Linked DNA regions of Homo sapiens: region 1 is linked to region 2. Evidence: promoter capture Hi-C in 16 types of primary human blood cells and fetal thymus (Javierre and others, 2016). All regions are on one chromosome and are shown on one strand. Each heading gives the region's core, a stretch centred on a gene start or on the middle of the fragment in contact. The rest is flanking DNA. Distances are from core to core; before and after follow the strand shown.

What was found. Contacts are between HindIII fragments. The CHiCAGO score rates a contact against its expected background, and 5 or more counts as called.
Region 1: a fragment that was not itself captured here is called in contact with the fragment with the promoter of AKAP12 in region 2 in 1 of 17 cell types (endothelial precursors); the score reaches 5.4 in endothelial precursors.

The regions. Positions count from the first base shown.
Region 1 is chr6:150,968,039-150,974,402 of GRCh38, forward strand. MTHFD1L (methylenetetrahydrofolate dehydrogenase (NADP+ dependent) 1 like) reads left to right here. Exons shown (of 28, transcript NM_015440.5): 20 at 3,909-4,020. Among named protein-coding and RNA genes, the nearest start is that of MTHFD1L, 110 kb to the left of the region's middle. The HindIII fragment of the contact is 2,116 bases long and covers 1,702-3,817 here.
Region 2 is chr6:151,236,855-151,243,110 of GRCh38, forward strand. It overlaps AKAP12 (A-kinase anchoring protein 12), which reads left to right and starts at 3,113. Exons shown (of 5, transcript NM_005100.4): 1 at 3,113-3,205; 2 at 3,530-3,870. The coding sequence starts at 3,709. RefSeq lists enhancers at 2,916-3,425, 3,503-4,080. The HindIII fragment of the contact is 4,204 bases long and covers 980-5,183 here.

The DNA of each region.
Region 1 (6,364 bases), core at 1,510-4,009, 270 kb before region 2:
GCCACTTCCTGATATTCTCATGTCCAGCTCCTTCGCCTCCCTCTGTTCTCATGTCATGTAAGCATCAGCTGCTCAGAGAAGCCACAGGAATGTGCAGCCCCCGTCCCTCTGCTGTCATTGCAGTACATGGCACAGAATGCTGAGAGCTTCCTATTTCCTTATCTGTTTTCTGTATTTCTCCTCCCACCGAGATGACAGCAAGACCTTTTCCATCCTGTTCACCACCGTATCTCCAGCTTCTAGAAAGTGCCCGACACCTATTAGAGGTTCAGTAAAGACTTGTTGAATAATTAAGTGAATGTTTATTATTTTTACTACATTCTCCTAAAAATACACATTTATTAATAAATAACTGAATAAGAGAAAAAATACGAAGTGATGTGATATTCCTTCATAACACTTCTCCCTCAAAGATGAATACTTATTATTAGGGATAATCATTTTCTTTATTGTTGTTGTTTGTTTTGTTTTGTTTTGTTTTGTTTTTTTGAGACGGAGTCTCTCCCTGTCGCCCAGCCTGGAGTGCAATGGTGGGATCTCGGCTCACTGCAACCTCTGCCTCCCAGGTTCAAGCGATTCTCTTGCCTCAGCCTCCCAGGTAGCTGGGATTATAGGCGCCTGCCACCACACCCGGCTAATTTTTGTATTTTTTTTTTAAGTAGAGATGGGGTTTCACCACGTTGGCCAGGCTGGTCTCAAACTCCTGACCTCAGGTGATCTGCCCGCCTGAGCCCCCAAAGTGCTGGAATTACAGGCGTGAGCCACCATGCCCCAGCCAGGATAATCATTTTCTTGTTTTAAATAATTCTTTTTTTTTTTTTTTTTTTGAAACGGAGTTTTGCTCTTGTTGCCCAGGCTGGAGTGCAATGGTGTGATCTTGGCTCACTGCAACCTCTGCCTTCCGGTTTCAAGCGATTCTCCTGCCTCAGCCTCCTGAGCATCTGGGATTACAGGCGCCCGCTACCATGCCTGGCTAATTTTTGTATTTTTAGTAGAGACAGGGTTTTACCATGTTGGCCAGGCTGGTCTCGAACTCCTGACCTCATGATCCACCCACCTCGGCCTCCCAAAGTGCTGGGATTACAGGCGTGGGCCACCACGCCCAGCAAATTTTTGTATTTTTAGTAGAGGCAGGGTTTCACCATGTTGGCCAGGCCAGTCTCAAACTCCTGACCTCAGGTGATCCGTCTGCCTCTGCCTCTCAAAGTACTGGGATTATAGGTGTGAGCCACCGTGCCCGGCCTGAGCACTTTTTAAAACATAATCTAAACCTGTTATTTCTTTGCTGCCTAATAAATCAGAGATTCAGAACCCTTAAAAAGCAAATAAAAGTAAGGGCAATAAGACCTGCTGAGGCTGAGGCAGGAGAATAGCTTGAACCGGGGAGGTGGAGGTTGCAGTGAGCAGAGATCATGCCACTGCACTCCAGCCTGGGCGACAGATTGAGACATAAAATAGACTGAGACCCTGCCTCAAAAAAAAAAAAAAAGAGTCCTCAAACTGTTCATATACAGGACTGGGCTTGCTAGGGAAAGAAGGGGGAATTCTTCAGACTACTTTACAAGGACACAAGAACTCCTCAACCTAAACAAAGTATGAAGGTACATAGACAAGTTTCTTGTAAGTCGGAAAACAGAGAAATCCACAGTAACTATAATACATCCCTTAAAGGATAAGCATGCATTTGTAGGAAGCAAACAAAGCTTTCCATAGAGAAACCACTTCCACCAGATGATTATATGGACTTGGGTTTTGTTTCTGCATCTGTCACTTGGCAAATGAAGATACCATCTTCAGGATGTTCCGTGTCATCGATTTCATTTAAGGCATAGGCTGTTTTAAGATTACTTTAAAAGATATGGACCTTTTTACAAAATAAAACACTGCATTCACTTAAAATATTTGCAGACGTGAACTCTTGTACCCTGATCCTATGTTGTCACTCTGGGTTTTATGTATCTAATCATTGACTAGGAATCTATCTCAGCAGATAATCCAAAAATCTAGTTTGACTAGTTGGTAGATTATGCTTTCCCGCTCACATCTGAACACACCTGGTTGTTAGTCTGGTAGGAGGTCATCAAGGGCCACATCCTTACAGGTTGCCAGGAGACCAGTAGTTCTTAATCCTGACTGCACTTGAGAAGCTCCTGGGAAGGTTTAAGAATATTGATTGATTGATGCCGGGCTCCCCATCAGACCCAGTGAACGTAATGTCTGAGGATAAGGCTTGGGTATCATGTATTGCCAGACTGAGGAAGACTTAAGACAAGAAAACAGTGAGAGCTGTTAACATTTTCCCACAGGTTAGCCGTGTGTGGTGTTGATGGAAACTTCACATGCGAGAGCACACTGTCCAATATGGCGGCCACTGGACATGTGGCCATTTCAATCTAAATTACCTAAACTTCAATAAAATTTGGAATTCAGTTCTTCAGTCATTTTAGCCACATTTCCATTTATGCATTTATTTGTTTATATTTTACTGTTCATATTTAAGTGCTTAGAACTCTGGTAAGCTAACAATTACTTGAAATTACTTGAAATATTAATCTTATGAAATGTTTGAAAGGGCCATTATGGAGAATATTCATAGCAAGATAGTTCCTGCCTTATTTTCCTGAGTGTTCTGCATGTAAAATAAAACCCAGAACTCAAGATAAATGTGTGTATGCCTTTGAGTTAGTCATAGAATTTTTTAAGCAACATGTTTAATTTGATGTACTGTATCTTATAGCTATATCCATGTTTGAGTGTGCAAGTGTGTGTGTACCTGTGTTTGGAAGTCTAACAATGACATTCCAATATTTTTTTCTCACCAACTCCATACTGGGAGTTTTAAAACCAGAGCCCTAATCTTGACTTAATTATTAATTTCCTCCGTGGCCCTGAAGAATTCCCTTAGCCTCTCTGGGCCTTAAATTTCTGGATAAAGAAGTTGGCTGCTTCGTGCTCTCAACATTATCTGATTCTGTGATTTCTAGCTAAAGCTACATTTATACAAAAATATAAAGTGCTTTTGCAAAGTAAAGAGTAGAATAGTGGTTATCAGAGGCAGTGGGGGATGGAGAAGTTGACCAAATAATACAAAATTCCAGTTAGACACCACCTGTGTATTCATAAACATGTGTCCCTAGGTTTTATTTATTTATTTTTATTTATTATTTTTTTCATTTTTGAGTCAGAGTCGGTCTGTCACCCACACTGGAGTGCAGTGGTGCGATCTCAGCTCACTGCAACCTCCACCTCCCAGGTTCAAGCTGTTCTTGTGCTTCAGCCTCCCGAGTAGCTGAGCTGGGTTTACAGGAGCACACCACCACACCCTGCTAAATTTTGTATTTTTAGTAGAGACGGGTTTCACTGTTGGCCAGGCCAGTCTTGAACTCCTGACCTCAGGCGATCCGCCCATCTTGGCCTCCCAAAGTACGGGGATTACAGGCGTGAGTCACTGTGCCCAGCCAATTGTAATGATTTTTATGGTTACCTTTTCTTGAATGGAATCATTTCTTAATTAAAAAAATAAATATACCTTTTATACCATCAGGGTTTAATTTCATTCTTTTAAAAAAATATAGTGCATGGCAACATAAAATAAGGTAAATAATTTATTTCATGGTCATTGAGGCAACTAACAAAATGGTTTAACAATATTTTGGAAGGAAGTGACTGTATTCTCACAGTTTTGTCTCTCAGGTTCAGCATTAAATGTAGAATAACATTTTTCTAGAATCCGGAGGGAATTTGGTCCTTTGATTGAGTCAGGGTGTTTTGACTGTCTTTGAAATATTTTATGCATTAAATATGCAGTATTCATAAAAGCTTTCCTACCCCATTTGCCCCAAATTGATCTTGGTTTCCATGCTTCTGTTTGTCTTTTGGGATTTTGATTTGCTTTTTCACTTCTCTAGGGGACACCTGTGTTCGTGCATGCGGGCCCTTTTGCTAACATTGCTCACGGCAACTCTTCAGTGTTGGCTGATAAAATTGCCCTGAAACTGGTTGGTGAAGAAGGATTTGTAGGTAAGTTATTTCTTTTAAATTTAGTTGTTGTAGAATATTGAAGAAATCTAAAAGCTGATGACTGGAATGGAGTGATATCCATCCTGACATGAAACATATTCTTTCAGGCACCCTCTTTCATAGAGGGTCTCAATAATGGAAAAGCCCTAAGGTCTGGTCTATACTCGTGAAATTATGCTTGTGCTTGAATCATAGAGTCTGGTATCAAGTACATATGGGTTTGAGTATAAACTCTGACTCTTGCAAACTGAGTGACATTGGACACATTTTAATTACTACTGAGCTTCGGTTTTCTTGTGTGTAAAATAGTGATAACAATACTGTATCAAACCTTTTAGGGTTGTTATGAAAACTGAATGAGATATTTTAGTCATTCAGCAAATGTTTTTTGAGAACCTACCACTTAGAAGGCATGTTAGCTAGGGATCCAGTGGTAAGCAAAACAGATAGGCGCAGTGGCACATGCCTCGCTACTCAGGAAGCCGAGGCAGGAGGATTGCTCGAGCCCAGGAGTTTGTGTCCAGCCTGGGCAGCATAGAAGACCCTGCCTCTGTGAAAAAATTAAAATTAAAACAACCAGCCTTAGCCCCTGCTCCTGTGGAGCGTACTGTCTAATGGTAATTGAATAAGAGAAAGTGCTCATTGACTGTCAGCCATTACTACCCTTACTATGTAGTACTGATAACTTGAAGTCGTGGGTTTATTTCCATGTACAGTTTCTCCTTGTTTTTTGTGAGCTAATATAGGAGAGATTCCCAACCAGTAGACTTAGAAATGTTAATTGGTAGTACTGCACACCTTTTGCTGCTGTCAAGTTCTTTGCAGAACCTGTTCCTCTTTGGCTTTTCTTGCATATTCCAGCTAGAAAGAAGGGGCAACTCTCATAGAGTTTACTAAGTCAGTGCCAGCCCCAGTCTCACCCACAATACTAAGGCAGCAAGGAAACAAAAGACAAAACCAAAACACAGGCATTCATGGAGGAGTCCCTTAATCTGACATATGAGGGACTGCATTGGCAGATTTCCCATGCTAACAGGTAATTCCCATTAACCACACGTATACCTATAATCGGAGACAGCAATCTCTTCTTTCACTCTTATCATCAGCTTTGGATCAAACTCAAAAGAGTTATTTTATTAGAAGAGAGTGTGCTGGACAAAAGAACTTGGCACTGCATTTTATGCTCAGACATCACAAAGTTCATTCAGTGTTATTGAGACTCTTTTAAGAATTCCTTGTGGACTGGCAGTCAGGATCAGATGAGGCTTGGTGGAGCTCCACTCCTCCATGATCTGTTTTCTGCAGCTCTCATGTACTTTGCTCCTTCGGTAGCAAATCCACTGCAAGAGTGGCTAGACATACTGTCTAAGTGGATTTGCTCAATTGATCGCTGCCTAATTGTAGAGCTAATGGACGAGGAGGCTGGGTCAGGGCGGGCACTGGAAAGTTGGGTGCTTAAGTGAAGTGGTGGTTCTGATGCATCAGCTCTGCAAATAAAGTAGCTTCTAGAAGGAAGCACTCTATTTTATGCTGACAGAGATCTCTGCCCATACCAGTTCTTACTTTGTCAAACACATATTTATAAAATACATGTTATCATGGCAGAATACTTTCAAAGATATAAACTGATGATGTATGCAAAGCAAACGAGCCCTCTGTGTGACCTTGAACAAGCCATTAGCCTCTCTGGGTGTGTCCCCTGTAGACATTCTCATCTGAAAAATGAGAAGTTGGACCAGATGAGGAGTTGGATGTGGATGTGTAGCCGTGGACTCAGAGTTAGACACTGTGGAATTGGAGCCCTGACTGGTAGTGTGTTTTCATTTCTCTAGGGCTCAATTTTTTATTTAATAAAAAGAATACTTCTGTATTTTAATGAATAGGATCAAGTGAGAAACTGCTTTGTAAAATATGAACTATGTTCAGGTCAGCAATTATACTAATTCTTTCTATGATCTCATCTAGTCTAAGATGCCGTAAGTGGGGGGGTTTTTCATGAGGATGAAATCTGTCCGTTGCCAGATGGTTCAAAGGGCAAGCCCTAAGTCAGAGGTTTTACCTCAACTGCTTTCAAGTCACAGATAACCTTGGGCACATGAACCCTTCTCTTCCTTGGTTTCCCTACCTGTAAAATAGGGCTTTGGATAGGGCTTCCCTCTCGAAAGGACTTGGTAGGTTTGAAATGAGGCATCAATGAGATCATGGGGTTGAGTCCTGGCACCTGACACATGGTAAGACTCAATCCTTCTTGGCCACTCCTGGCTGTCATTGTTACCCCCACTATTGATACACTACTGATGAAGGTTACATTTTCTTTTTTCTTTGGATCTTTTTATTTTTTGGA
Region 2 (6,256 bases), core at 1,863-4,362:
CTCAAACTGTGTTTATGAGAGAATTAACCCTCTCAGGGAAACAGCTCTACCAACGACTGCCCCATGGGAGAGGATGTGTGGGGACACCTGCATCCTGCTATTTGGAGAAAAATTGAGCTGCTGGTGAGACATTGAACCAACAGCCTTGGACTGAGAAGTGAAAAATAGAGAACACCTGCCTCCCCTCTACTCTGATGCCAATCCAAGCAATTCCGAAGGCATCTTGGAAGCCCTAGAAAAGAAAACCTCAGTGACTCGATTTAGAACCTTGGAAACTAGAGTGGTAACTTTGTGCTTGGCACATAATAGGTACTTGATAGAAATTTATTGAAAGAAAGAAAGAGAAGAAGGAAAGAAAGAAAAAGAAAGAAAGAACAGAGAAGAAGGAAAGAAAGAAAAAGAAAGAAAGAAAGAAAAGTAAAAAAAGTAACAAACTTTGTAGCATTCTGAAGCACTAAGTGGCATACCCAAAAGGTTGGGCTATTTCATCGCTAGAGGTCATTAATAACACAACCACTTTTCTTTTCTTCTCTTTTTTTTTTTTGAGACAGGGTCTCACTATGTCATCCAGGCTGCAGTCTGGAACTCCTGGGCTCAAGTGATCCTCCCGCCTCAGCCTCCCAAGTAGCTAGGACTACAGGCATGCACCACCACTCCTGGCTAAATTTTTTTTTATTTTTTGTAGAGATGGGAGTTTCACTGTGTTGCCCAGGCTGGTCTTGAACCCCTGGTGTCAAGCAATCCTTCCACTTCAACCTCCCAAAGTGCTGGGATTACAGGCGTGAGCCACCGCGCCCAGCGCAATGATTTTACTTTTTACAAATAAGAGTATGAACATTTACATGGCCTGGAAAATAAACAAAAAGCAAGTAACTGCTAATCTAAGCAGATGCTGATATCTTCCTCAGCACGTAGGTTGTACACTGTTGGCTTGACCCTGCAATCCTTTCTGAAAATTTAAAGGGTAGTAGATGTGAAAAGCTTTGCTAAGAATTTCCCAGGAACAAAGTAAATATAATCTCACAGAATGTGAAAATGTTGATAGTATTTGTGCTACTTACTGATACATTTTCAAATGTGCTGACGTTAATCATTCTCAAATAGTTTTTTTTTTCTTCTTCTTTTTTTTTTTTTGGGACGGAGTCTTAATCTGTCATCCAGGCTGGCGTGCAATGGCATGATCTCAGCTCACTGCAACCTCCACCTCCCAGGTTCAAGCAGTTCTCGTGTCTTGGCCTCCTGAGTAGCTGGGATTACAGACACGCGCCACCATGCCTGGCTAATTTTTGTACTTTTAGTAGAGACGGGGTTTCACCATGTTGCCCAGGCTGGTCTTGAACTACTGTCCTCAGGTGATCCACCCACCTCGGCCTCCCAAAGTGCTGGGATTACAGGTGTAAGCCACCACACCTGGCCTCAAGTAGGTTTTAACAGTGCTTTTTGCTCTTAAAATCCTAAGTGAGGTCCAAATGCCACGTTTCAGTAACACCTCTGAGAGGAGAGAACACAGTTGATTGAAAGGGAAGGGGAGTGCCATGCGGTGGTGAAGCGTGGACCCTGAAAGCAGATGCCAGTTGGACTTCCTGCTCTTCCAACTCCTGGCTGTGAAACCTGAAGCACACAATTTAATTTCTCCGGGCCTACTCCTCCCCCTCCTGCCAATGGTAAAATGAGAATAATACTATCTATCCCATGGGGTTATTGTAAAGATTATTATGTAAAGTGCATTGAACAGTGCCTGGTACAGAGTAAGAATTCTAATGTTTCCTAAATAGTCAAAATTTAAGTCAAAATGGGGGAAATGTGTATAAATTCCTAAAACTAAGCATTTTGCAAATATACTGTTTCTTAAGAGATAAACTCCAGAGAAATTGGCCTTCGTGTAGTCCTTTAAATAAAAATAATTAATTCAGAAAACAGGCCCAGTGTGGTGGTTCACACCTATAATCCCAGCACTTTGAGAGGCCAAGGCAGGAGGATCGCTTGAGCTCAGGAGTTCAACACTAGCCTGGGCAACACAGCGAGACCTTGTCTCAAAAAAAGAAAAAGAAAAAAAATTAATTCAGAAAACAAATTTGATGGTGAGTAACTAACCTATGGTTCCCAGGGTACCATTCGATTCATGCAATTCATTAGGCATGAAACATCCTAGTGCTGAACTACTGCTTACACCCTTTCTACAAAATTGTACTAAATCTGAGTATGAGATATTTATCTGGAATTTGGTGTGAATATTCCGAAAGTTTCTTCCTTCTTTCTTTCTTTTTTTTTTTTGACAGAATCTTGCTCTGTCGACTAGGATGGAGTGCAGAGGCACAGTCATAGCTCACTGCAGCCTCGAATTCCTGGGCTGAAGTCATCCTTCTACCCCAGCGTCCCCAGCCTCCTGAGTAGCTAGGACTACAGGTGCACCACTGCGCCTGGCTAATTTTTTTATTTTTTGTAGAGACAAGGTCTCGCTATGTTAACCAGGCTGGTTTCTTCATTCTTAATGGAGATTCAAAGTATTTGTGAAAACTGGGGCACTCGGTTGCTAGTTACAACTGGAATAAATTTTGTCTTTCAGCCCCAAAGCCTTAATGCTTTGCGCCAAGCAATCCAGCTACAAATTTAATTTAGTTCAAATACTTATTGATTGGCTGCCATGCTCATGTAATACATATTATATTCAAGGGTCGGAAATGAAAGGATGCAAGCCACTTGTGCTGGTATTATTTAAAGTCTTCATCTTTTGAGAAAGGCTGACGGCAAAGGAACAGATCTATGCTGTCATGTGTCGGCATCGCGCGGAGCAGAGGTGGCCTGGATGGGTAACTTCCAGCACAGGCCCTCAAAGAAGGACGGGCACATTTCCGGTAACAGCCTCATTTCCCCCCGTTCCCCGGGGGAAGGGGGGCGGCTAGCACTGCTGATGGCATCGCCTGACATCACTTGTTCCGGAGGATAGGAGAGCGTGGGCCTGCGTGGCCCACCTCATCCGTGGCCTGACTGCGTTAACCTCTCGGTTCCCTGCTCTTGCCACGTGAGGTGCCCAAATATGGTCGGACTCAGGAGGAGCCAGGGAGCGCTTGCCTTTCTCCTGCTAATGGGGAGGAGGCTGGAACAAATGTTTGGAGTTAAACACAATCTGCAGGAAAGCAAATGGGGACTCGGACTCGCTCCTGGGCGAGCTGAAAGTCGGCTGCAGCAGAAGCTCCTGCCTTGGGTGATCCATCATTTAATAAACCCCAGAGAATCCAGTGTCCCCGGCAGGCTTTTTGCTCCCCTGCTCTCTTGCCTTCTGAGGCCCTGGGTCGTCCCCGCAGCTCTAGTCGCCCTGTTAGAAACGGGAGGCGCCCGAGGGCCGGGTGGGCGGCTGCCTGGACCTGGGCTGGCGCGTCGCAGCGCCTCTGGTCCCGGCAGCCTGGGGGCAGATGCTGCTGCAGGGCGTGTCTGGGGCTGTGCTCATGTGATGAAGCGAGGGAAAAACCGGGGGGAGGGGGGCGGAGGCTAAGAGGTGGCCTTTTTTTTTTTTTCCTTTTCTTTTAAGGAGTTTGCCGCGAGCGCGTCTCCTTCATTCGCAGGCTGGGCGCGTTCGCAGTCGGCTGGCGGCGAAGGAAGGCGCTCTCGGGACCTCGCGGGCGCGCGTCTTTTGGCTCTTGCCCCTGTCCCTGCGGCTTGGGGAAGGCGTAACCCGGCGGCTAGGCGCGGGAGAAGTGCGGAGGAGCCATGGGCGCCGGGAGCTCCACCGAGCAGCGCAGCCCGGAGCAGCCGCCCGAGGGGAGCTCCACGCCGGCTGAGCCCGAGCCCAGCGGCGGCGGCCCCTCGGCCGAGGCGGCGCCAGACACCACCGCGGACCCCGCCATCGCTGCCTCGGACCCCGCCACCAAGGTACGGGCGTGCCGGGCCACCTGCGCCGGGAGGCGCGGGTCTTTGGGGGTGGGGGTGGGGGTGGGGGGGTCCCTCCGATTTCCGCCGAGAGAACTTCCCAGCCCATCCAGCCGCATCTGCAAACTCAGGAGTGCGAACCCCTCTTTGGAGGCTTTTCAGGGTCTTTCGCGCCGGGGCGGGGCCAGAGCAGCGGCGAGCGCGGCGGGGGGCTTGCATCTTTGTCGCGGGTCTCCAGGGGAGGCGACTGCGCCATGCGCAATAATAAAACCCGCGCCCTGCCCACGGCGGCTGAGCCTTTCTGCGCACTCTTCCGGTGGGAGCCATGCAGCCCGAGGCGGAGGAGCTGCGCGGAGGGGGATCCGTGGAGAATGGACCCCGGGCCGGGCCTCCGGAGCTCCGAGATGCGGAAAGTCAGCTGTGAGGCCAGGACTCGTGGTGGAGCCCGCCGGGGAGCCCAGCCACCCTCGGGTTCCCCGTCGCGTACCGCCCTGGATGCCAGCGGTGCCTGGAGCGAGCGGGTTTGGTACCCAGTCCTCCTGCGGCAGCGGCCCGAGCAGGCACCGCCTTCCCGAGGCAGAGAAAGCCTGGGGTGTAGCTCGCTCAGAGCCAGGAAAAACCTGGGCAGGCGCTGCGTTTCCAGAAGGAATGACAGGTTTCGCAAACCAGCCAGCGCCCTCGCGTTCGCTCAGCGCTTTGCCTGCAGACTCAGTTGGCCAAACACACGCTAGAGTGGCTAGAAGTTCTCAAAGGATGGGGTCAGTGTAACGAGCATTCCGGGTACTCTTCCCTGGACGCAGTGCTGAAACGACTGCATTTTATCGGCTTCAGTCTTCAAGGCTGGAATATTTCTTGTGGGCCAGGACAGCCGCCAAGACTGTGGCTTGTTCTGGTCGTGGTATTTTAGATCTATTTTCCAGCGCATGTGTTCATTAGCAAGGCTTCACTCTACTGATTTTGTGATACCCTTGTATCACAAAGGTACCCTTGTGATACCTTGTAGAAAGATGTGGATAACCATGTTTAATAGTTAAATTTGCGGTATGTCAAATTTGAGGATAGAGTACGTGAGTTATCGCAGGAGGTGTAGATGTTTACAATATGCAAAAAAAAAAAAAAAAAGGAACCTACAACCATGACCTAATTGCCTTGACCTCCTTAGCTGCCCTAGTCTCTTTTGGGCTGAGAGACTGCTGTTAATAATATAGTTTTTACCGCCAGTCTTTGATTCATAACTACTTGTAAAATCCATGGTCCCTAGATATTAAGTACTAACTGTGTCTCTGTGCTATGTAGGTTTTTCTAAGAGATGCTTAAGCTTCTGGCCTGAGGAATGTACTGTCCTTTTGAGATTCAAGTCGCATTTTAATACTTACTGTATGCACATAATGTTTTGATGCCAGCTACTGTCAAAGTGGCTCTGTAACCAGTGGTCAGAGTCTAGCGATGAAAATAATTTTAAGGTATAATTGCTAAAAACTTGCAGTTGGGTGACATTCCCCCCACCGCCCCGGCTTTTATACTCCTTCAGATCTTACTAACTGTTCACCCTGAAATATGGGATTTAATCCCTTCCCAGTAAACTTGAATTTGTTTATTTAAAAATATTCCTTCCATTCTCTTTTTCCGTCTTCCATAACCTTATCCTTTTCCTCTTTCCAAGTTGCCAACCGTCTTGAAGCAACCAAACAACCTCCTTTTAAAAAATCACTTAAATGACATCCAGAATATCATTGAACTTGTTGGCATAATGCCCAGTTATCAATTTGGAGACAAATCAGTGCACTTACATGTATCCTTGGAATGTATTTAGTTTTCATTTGAACTAGCCAAATTTATCACTCAGGCTTTGAACACAAATGTCTTTTCAAAAGGACTCCCCAATTAAGAATGACTCAGCACCATGGCCCTTGCCTCCCCTCTTCTTGTTAAGCTCCAATTCCTGACCTCCAAGTAATCCCATCTCCCACTCTAGGCTCCGTGGCACCATGGACCCGTCCCAGCAGTTTTCACATGTGTGGGTTTAGTGTTCTTGCTGTTGTGAATACTTCGCAGGGGCAGGGAACACGCCTGGTTGTGCCGACCAACGGTGTTCCTTCATGCGTGCCATGTTGCCTGGCACAGAGGCAGCTCTCAGGAATACTTGTGGAAAGAGGAAGGGGTGATATTGGCTCCTTGGTTTTGATTGGAAAATATCAAGTTGGAGAATACCTTGACCTATCTGATTTTACTACAATTTAACCCTTGATCATTTCATTATCACGTGAGACTGATTATGATAGTGACTAAGGCAAGTCAGTCTGTTCGGTTATTAATAGATCAAGTGAATAGTTTGACCAAAAACTTCAGATTTGGGGGCTTTGGATTCTGTTTCTCTAGATATAGAGTG